2 separate regions of the Homo sapiens genome follow, and region 1 is linked to region 2. Evidence: promoter capture Hi-C in 16 types of primary human blood cells and fetal thymus (Javierre and others, 2016). All regions are on one chromosome and are shown on one strand. The core of a region is centred on a gene start or on the middle of the fragment in contact, and the rest is flanking DNA. Distances in the headings are between cores, read along the strand shown. Region 1 has its middle 8.0 kb from the start of LINC01913. Region 2 holds the start of KCNG3 (potassium voltage-gated channel modifier subfamily G member 3).

What was found. Contacts are between HindIII fragments. The CHiCAGO score rates a contact against its expected background, and 5 or more counts as called.
Region 1: a fragment that was not itself captured here is called in contact with the fragment with the promoter of KCNG3 in region 2 in 2 of 17 cell types (naive CD4 T cells and activated CD4 T cells); the score reaches 7.3 in naive CD4 T cells.

What each region holds. Positions count from the first base shown.
Region 1 is chr2:41,867,514-41,871,692 of GRCh38, forward strand. It overlaps the pseudogene RNU4-63P. Among named protein-coding and RNA genes, the nearest start is that of LINC01913, 8.0 kb to the right of the region's middle. RefSeq lists a silencer at 2,305-2,404. The HindIII fragment of the contact is 2,317 bases long and covers 1,441-3,757 here.
Region 2 is chr2:42,491,766-42,496,288 of GRCh38, forward strand. KCNG3 (potassium voltage-gated channel modifier subfamily G member 3) reads right to left here and starts at 2,217. Exons shown (of 2, transcript NM_133329.6): 1 at 1,072-2,217. The coding sequence starts at 1,736. It also overlaps a transcript of MTA3 not described here. RefSeq lists enhancers at 404-1,161, 1,162-1,919, 3,244-3,538 and silencers at 2,000-2,089, 2,270-2,319, 2,410-2,489. The HindIII fragment of the contact is 17,203 bases long and covers 1-3,990 here.

The DNA of each region.
Region 1 (4,179 bases), core at 1,349-3,848, 620 kb before region 2:
CATCCACACAAAGAGCTGGCTATGGCTCCTTCTCTCGAGTTGAGCCTGTATTTGACAACTGTTGAGGAGGCGGAAGCTGGGGGTGGCCAATGAATAAGAAAACAAAAAATGAGCTTTGTGTGAGAGTTCACTGGGATCTTACAAAATGTCTTTTTAATCCTGGAACTATTTTCTGTTGTGTGGGAGGAGAGGAGCAAGGGTGATGCCTGGAGATGGAGGTCTTGAGGAGGACGTGTGCAAGTTCCTAGGGAGGGCAGAAATCAAAAATGAAAGTCAAGGTCGGGTGGATGACACAGGGTAGAGAGCCAGTGAGTCTTCACAGCACCCTGGAGTCAGAAGGATCTGCTGGTTCTGCTCAAGGCTGGGATGCACTTTACCTAGATCCTGGAAAGCAACATAAATCACTGCCTTGACTGGCCACAGCTGACCATGGGGATGGGGGTGATGAGGGCTAAGCTCTGTATTCTATGCACAGCATAGGAGTTCACTCAGCCCCAGCCGCGCAGCTAGTGCCTTCCCTCTGCAAACATTCCACAAATGACCATAAACATCCCACATATGACCATTTCCATTTGAGTTTTTTAACACTTGGGCTCTCAAGGCTTAAGAAATTCTCCACTCTTCAATTTATAAAAGTAAATCACATTTGGGCATTTTACAGAAGGTCAAGAAGTTTTGACACCTACATCAGAGACATACATCTTTCCTTCCCTCCTCTTACTTTTGAAATGATAGCCAAACCCCAGCGGTTTCATTGCCTGGGAGAATGCTGTGCCACACACAACATCTGTAAGTAGTTAATTTTCCAAATGGGAGATGGTCACCACAGATGCAGAACTTTTAAAAATAAACATCAGAAAAATATTACTCCAGCAAAAATGAAAGCCTAGAATCCACGTGAGTGGGTGGGAGGTAGCTGGCGCAAGGTAGATCAAAGCTGCATCCTAGTCTGCCTGGCCATGCAAAAGCAAGAAAAATAGAACCACAGAACTTCAGAGCAAAAAAAAAGAAGGACCTTTGGGGGGTATCCTAGCTCCCATATAATAGGGAAATTAAGGCCTGGGCCAGGAAGTGAGTGCCTATCTGTGTTGGACTGGAGCTCAGGCTGAGAGCTTTCTGCTCTAGAATAAGCCTCATTTTTATTAGGGTATCTTAGCTTTTTCCCTTTTAAGAAAAATAAAAATCCTCTGACTTAACCACGGCCTTTAGCCCCTACATGGGGCCCTTTTGAGGTGGGCGGGGGACTCTGGTCCTGGCCTCCTGAGATGGGTGTATCCCCTACCTACACCCCTCATCATGCATGCCCTGCATCTGGATGGCAAGCCATGAGAACCCAGGACACTGCAGAGGCCAAGGCTAGAGCAAGACTGACAAAGGCCTAAGAGAGGGAACTCCACTTGGGCAGCTACTTCTTATCTATTTTATGGAATGAGGTGGCCAAGCTTGAGAATCTTGTGCCCTGAGACTAAAGAAAGCCTGATCACTGTGACCAGCATGAGTTATAGAGAGGTTGGGGCAGGGCAAGCTGGACATCCAACTGCACCCACATCCTCCCACAACCATTCCTCTCCTGCCTCAACATGAGACTGGTGCCTCTGGACAGGAGCAAAGTGAGGCACAAAGTATGTCCCCTACACACAGACAGGCACAGAATAGGCATTCAGTAAACCATAGTTCAGCCAGGCAGGATGGCTCATGCCTGGAATCCCAGCACTTTGGGAGGCCAAGGCAGGCGGACCACCTAAGGTCAGGAGTTCAAGACCAGCCAGGCCAACATGGCGAAACCCCATCTCTACTAAAAATACAAAAATTAGCCGGGTATAGTGGTGGGCACCTGTAATCCCAGCTACTCAGGAGGCTGGGGCAGGGAGAACTGCTTGAACTCGGAAGGTGGGGGTTGCAGTGATCCGAGATCACACCACTGCACTCCAGCCTGGATGACAGAGTGAGACTCCATCTCAAAATAATAATAAAATAATAAACTGTAGTTGTTTCGGCTTGGAGTGAAATGGAAGAAATATGAGGGACAGATAGCACATTTAAAGGGATCTATTGTTCCAGCCCAGATGAGCCCCTGGACATTCCTGTGTGTTATGCTTTACCAGGTGCCTTATCACTGCTTTATCCATCTCTTCCCTACAGGTGGTTTTCTGCAGGGAGGCTCCAAAAGACAGAAGCTGAGTTCTGCCAGAAGAAAAAGGGAATGGAATATGTAAAAGAAAAGGATAAAAGAAAACTGGGGACAGACAGGCAAGGCTAGTAGGGAAGGGGGAGTGGGGTCTCTGGGGAGAAGAGAATCCTCAACCTGGGAAGAAGGGGAGGCTTGAAAGCAGAGGGGAAAGCTATGGAGGTCTGGAGGGCAGAGGAAATCCCAGATGTGGTGGCCAGCAGGGGTCGCTGATGCCCCACCAACAGCCTTAGGGCTGGGGAAGACTCAAAGGGAGGAAGATTTTCAAAAGCTCAAGTGGGCTTCACTCCCTCCCCTACCCTCCACCGTCCCCTCTGCCCCAGACTCTTCCTTATGGCATTGAGGTCTCTCTTCTAGGGTTCTGGAGGTTCCTTTCCCTGTGATCCTTTTCCTGAAAGTGAGCAAGATAGCCTGGCCAGGCAGCCCTGGGGGTGATGGAGGCAGCAGGTGGGGAGAGGCCTCCTGGATTTGCCCTCCAATGCTGCTCCCATGGGCACCCATGGAAATGGGGGTAGGAGGGCACCTCTGACCACAGGCTGCTGATGGGGTTGGCGCAGGCAGAGGAAGGGAGGGAACTGCTCTTCCTGGCTATCCTTGTCAAATAGCAAATTCAGAGCAGAGCCACAGCGAAGCCTGGAGGTAGAGGAATGCCCCCCGGCCAGCAGTGGTTCAGGGCCGTGCTTAGGAGCACCAAACCTGAGCCTGGGCGCTGCATGCTCCGAGGGCCAATCCCAGCACACACTGTTCCCCCACTGTCTGAGGCCCAGCACCTGTTGTCTAGAATCAGCGTCTACTTGCCTCTAGGCAGACACCCTGACCAATTCTCTACCCTCCTTGGCTTCTCCATTTTCAGTTCTGCTCCTCAGACACCAAAAGCTCCTATCACTACAACCTTCCTCATATTACCTTTTCCAAGATTCTGGCTTAGCCAGTATTAGTTACAGTTCAGGTCAATCAATGTCCTTCAAGAAGAGTTTAGGAAGACCTGTGTGTCCCAAGTCCTAATCACATCTCAGAATGGTTCTGCCACAAACTCTGAGATTCTTTCAAAAAGCATGTATTGATCTGCTCTTGCTTTCCTAGGGCCATAAAAGAGGCAGGCTTATGGAACCAAGTATGTTGCGCCTCTGAGCTAATGGTTCCATCTTTGGAGGCCACTCCTCAGGGTAGTTCTTAACTGACAGATGACCCCCGACATTAGAAGAGATGCCAGCAGAGTCCAGACCTGGGGTAGGACCCTGAGCTGTTTATCCCCAACAGTCAGAAGGAAGGCTGCACTGTCCCAGGGGCACCCAGCCTCCAAATGAGCCTCAAGGAAGGGTCTGGAAGGCCAGACAATACTATGGTCAGATTATGGACTTGGGAATTGCTGCAGATGCCATTGGGGGTAAGGAAGATTAGGAAATTCTGGAACTCAGGAGCTGCCCAGGCAGCCAGACTGCCTCTGACACACCCAGTCCTCATTTGGATTTGAGGAAAGGAGACTTGAGCGCAGGAGAAAGGCACCCAGGAGCCTGTGAGTCGTGCCTAAGCCTCTGGATCCCACATCTGAGGAAACAACTTAATGTAAGCTTTGAGTGGTGCTACCACCGTCGCCTCTGAGGTTTAACCGAGGCGCGATTGTTGCTGATTGAAAACATGAGACCTAATTCCAGCCCCCTCCTCCCTCCAGTGGCAGGCGGAGGCTCCACATCCATTTCCTGCCTTGGTCAGAACTGGCTCCGGAATGGGACAGGGCTGCCTGTGGCTCCAGCTGGGGGAGGCTGAGGTGAATAAAGACAGTGATGGAGAGGGATCCAAGGGAAACCAAGGATGGATGTGAAGAGCTGATGCCACCTGCCACCCATCCAGGTGGAGTCCTCCCAGACTCCAGGCTCATGCCAAGGGAGGGTGTAGGTGGTTGCTAGTGTAAGCTAATCCTGTGTCTGTGATGCCGAAAAAACTATATAAATGCCCATCACCTCTCTGGGGACAGCCCTGCTCCCCAGCCA
Region 2 (4,523 bases), core at 967-3,466:
TGTAGAAGTAATCCACTGCAATAGCAAGGCCGCCGTTCCGAACATGTACATGCCTATCAGTAAAACATGACAGGGCACAACCTTAAATTTAAAAAATGAATGGAAGGAGGATCTTAAGACAGTGTCAAACAGATAAACTATAATATGCAGTTTGGGTTTTGTGCCCCAAAAGGCTGTCTTCTTTGAAAGTCCATCCTTAGTCTGCTTATTCCTCCCACTGAATATGCTCACTTGTACTAAAAACAGGAAAGTGCTATCACCACTTCAAGGTAAGACAGTCTAAGAAAAGACTGCAATATTTTCCCATTCATCCTAGTAAAGTAGAAAAAAAAATTTACCCAAATACTGTTTTCTGGATTTAGGACAGTTTAGATTTTTCTTTGTTCTCAAGGTAATGGTTTTTTCCCTTCCCATATCATAGACCCTCTGAAAGTCGCAGTGTGAATCTTTGCTACCAAACGGTGGACAAGAGGTTTGCTAACTCCATACTTTGTAGGAAAAGGGGGAAGAAAAGGGCACAGACATCCATTATTTAGAGTCTATCGATAAATTAACCTGCTTTATAATATAACGATTCCATTACAGCACATAGTATGCCGGGGGCAGAGTGTATAGAATGTGTGGAGAGTGCACATTTCACCATAACAAGAATCCATCTTTCCAAACACTACCAAAAATTGGCAAATAATTCAAACTGCGCTTAGTTCAAGGCTTAATTGTTGAACCCTAACAATAAAAGTTCAGAAAAATGTAATTAGCAGGTTGCTCTCTGCGCAAAAGTAAACTACAAAGAGGGGACATTTGTCTATCTCTACACGCCCCTCCCCATGCCTGAGGATTTCGCCCTCAAGAGGTGCGTCTAGTGTAAGGGCCAGACCCCGCTGGTGCCCCGGACAACGGGGTAGGAGTGGGGACCGACCGGTCCCGTAGTTGGCCGCGCCTGGGCCTCGCTGGGCGCGCACCCCGCTGGCTCGGTCGCCCGGAGGCGGACAGGACGGAGACGGGACGTATGGACGGGACGGACAGACGCGACAGGACGGACGGGACGGGTAGAGAAGCAGTGCGTCCTACCCGGAGGGCTCCCTCCCAGGGCCGGCGGAGTACCTGCTCCGGTCATCCAGGCTGCGGTTGTCGGCGGCTGCGTTGCGCCAGTCGGGCAACGTGCTGGCGCACAGCACCACCATGGACACGATCACGAACACCACCGACACGCTAGCCAGGATCTGCGCGGCCAGCGACGACGTGGGCTCCTCGAAGGTCCGCCGCATGCGCTCCAGCCAGCGCCTGGAGGGAGCCGCCTCGGCCCCGCCGGGGCGCGCCTCGTCGCGGCCCAGCACGCCCGGCTCGTCGGCCGAGTAGAAGGTGTAGGTGTCGGACATGCGGTCGTCGAGGCGGCGCTGGCAGCAGTACTCGAGGTGCGCGCCCTCCAGGCCCCAGTAGATCATCTCGTTGTAGAAGGAGAGCTCGCACATCCGCGGCGCGAAGCGCAGCTTGCCGTGGCCGCGCACGTAGAGCAGGATGAAGCCGAAGGCCTCCGAGTGCCGGTCGAAGAAGTACTCGTTGCGCTCGCGGTCGTAGTCGTCGCACACCTCGAGCACGTCGCGCTCGGAGCGGCAGCCGTGCAGCCGGCTCACGCGGCGCAGCGGGAAGTCCTTCAGCAGCTCCCGGGACAGCGAATACCGGGCGCCGCCCACGTTCAGCACCACCGAGGCCGCCCCGCTGCGCCCGAAGGTCATGGCTGGCCGCCCGGGGGACTTTCGGCCCGAGGGCCCCGCTGCAGCCCCCCACCCCAAGCCGCCACGCGGGGCCTGCCTGCCCGTGGCTGACGGGGGAGCGCGCCGTCGGGGCCCGCGCTCCCTCGGGGCTCCGCTCCTGCCCTCCGCTGGCCCGGGGGTCCCTGGGCTCGAGTATCTCCGGCGCTGCTAGTAGCGCGCCCTCCGCCCGGCGGTACCTGCGGGTGGCCGGGGAGTCCTCGCCGGCGCCAGCGCTGAGCCCCACCGGCTGGGAACGCGGCTGTGTCCGCGCCGCCGACCCTCGCGCCCGAGGGCTGCGCACACCGAGGCCGCGGTGCCCTCTCCCAAGCCGCGGGGCCGACCCCCTGAGGGCTGCGGGCGCCGAATGGAGCCGCCGGGGCGGAATAGCTCCCCGTCTCCGGCGCTCCCTGCGGCCGCGAATCCGGCGGCCGCCCCGCCGCCGTCCAGAGGCGAGAGGCAAAGTGAGCGGGTTCGGAGGCGGCGAAGAGCCGGCTCGCGGCGGCGGGGGCGGGGCCTCTGTGCAGTCCTCCTCCTCGCCCGCCGGCTCCGCGCGCGCCGCTCACCTCCCTCCGCGCCGCCCTCCGCTTCCCGCCCGCGCCCGCACCTCCCCGGCTTGCTCGGGCTGGGATTCCCGGGCGCCCCGCCCTGGACCTCGGGCTCCCCGCCTCGTGACGCCGTCCTCCCCCTCCGCTCCGGCCCGTAGTGGCGGGGAGGGGTCCGCAGGGCGGGGGAGCGGGGAGCCCAGCGCCGGGATGCCTGCTCCCGCGTCCTGCCCTGGGCCATCGGGATGAATTGGGCAGTCCCCAGGGCCCCTTTTAACAGCCCTGGTTCAAAGCCCAGTGTGGACTCGGGTGCGGGGACAGACGGCGTTTGGAGAGCTTTTTCCAGAAACTGTCCGGAGCCCAGCTCGGGTTCTGACATCGCCCCTAAGGATTTCTCAGGGAAGGCATCCCAGCCACGGCTTTTCCTGCCGACTTTGCTCTTCCTACCGCCGCGCGGGGCGACCCACGTACCGCGTGCTCAGAGGGCGGCTACACGCCCCATCCCCCAGCCTCGGTGCCGCCTGCCAGCCCGCGGAGGGAAGCGGTCCCCGACCCGGCCCCGGCCCCCACGTTCTGGGGCGCGAGTCCTGAGAAGGCGCCTAACGTGTAGCGCGCCTGGACCCTCTCGAGATGCTGCCCTTAGAGTGGGATGAAAGTCTGGGGAGGAACGCCTTGTCACCGGCAAAAACAGCCTTTCTCTTGGTCTTCGTCTGCATCCTCCTTTTCAAAATATCTTGATTTCCCCCGCGCACCCCTGACCCGGCTGCAGCACCGGCCCTCCGAGCGGGAAGAGCCCCGTGAAGGCTCCGCAGAGCGATCTACCCCGCGCTCTTGTCCGTGCCCAGAAAGCGGGTTCCACTTGGCAGGGATTATTTTAAACTGCTACCAGCAATTCATTCACCTGACACCCGACACCGGCAGCCCAGCCCGCCGGAGGCGAGACAGGTGAGTTGTAAGGCGAACCGTGTTAGATGCAAAACAAATACTAGAAGAAAAAAATAAGGGTGGGGTAGGGTGAGATGCGGTCATCTGACCACAGGGTAACCTGGCTGGTTAAAGGGAAGAGTTTTTCATTGCCCTCTACTTTTCGTAATTTTGTAGGATTGTCCGGTGCCCGCTAGAGGTCGCCAAACGGAGTCCTTTTGCGCTGGTTCTTAAGTGGATTCCTAGTGAAAAGGCAGACAACTGAAAATGTGAGTGCTGTCTTTTAAGTAAAATCACTCTCGGTGGCTTCTTAAAGAATGAAAATCTCTGTGAGTTGTTTATCCCCAGACTTGGATAATTTATCTTAAGAGCACTAAATGTGATTAAAAGCTCAAAAACAGGAGTTATTTGCTACTTTAGTATCTACTAAATAGTTTGCTATTCAGTATCTATTTTGCTATTTAGTGTCTACTGGGTAGATACTGCTACTTTGCTGTTTAGTATCTACTAAGTAGATATTAAACAAGAAAAATATCTGTAAGAAAGTGAGTTTCAAGACAGAATTGGAGGTGCTGATGGCCATGAGTTGGCACAGAGAAAGGGCAAAACATTCCTAGTAGCAAAATCTCGAATGTGGAGGTTTAAAGTCTGTGAAGAAGTATAATGCACTTGCCCACTGAAACAATGGGGATCTCAACTGCAGCATTTAAATTGGATCCCATAAGCAATGGAATCCCTGGAGGTTTCCATAGCAGAAATGGCTTGATGAAAGCTTTATTTCAGGAAGATGCCTTTGCACTTTGGGTCATTCTAAGGAGAAGGTCATTTCGCAACCCAGGAATGGGATCCCCAACCCCGTGTCTGTGAAGATGAAGAAGGGTCTGTTCTGAGAAACGCTGAGACCAAGAACTTTGCAGGTCTTGAAGATGGATTTGTTGTAGGACGTGAGGATGGGGAAAAGTTTGCAGATGTGAGCCAGAGATGAGCCTGGCTTGATACCAAGAGCCAATTCATCAGGAAGCCGTTAAAAAATACTTTCTAGAAGCATCACAAGCAATAGAAGACAGAACTATAGTGCCGATTGTTTGCTCTAACATTATTGTAGGGTTTATTTCCTGTGTTCTCTCCGTAGAATCCTTCTACTGTCTGTTGATTGAACCAGTTGAAGAAATATCTCATTTTAAATTACATTTGAGCTTAGAAAACAAATTAATTTGATGACAATACAATGTGTGCCTCCTAGGTATATTTTCATGCGATTTCTTAGAGAGATAGGCTTAAATCATTTCATTTGTTTCAAGAG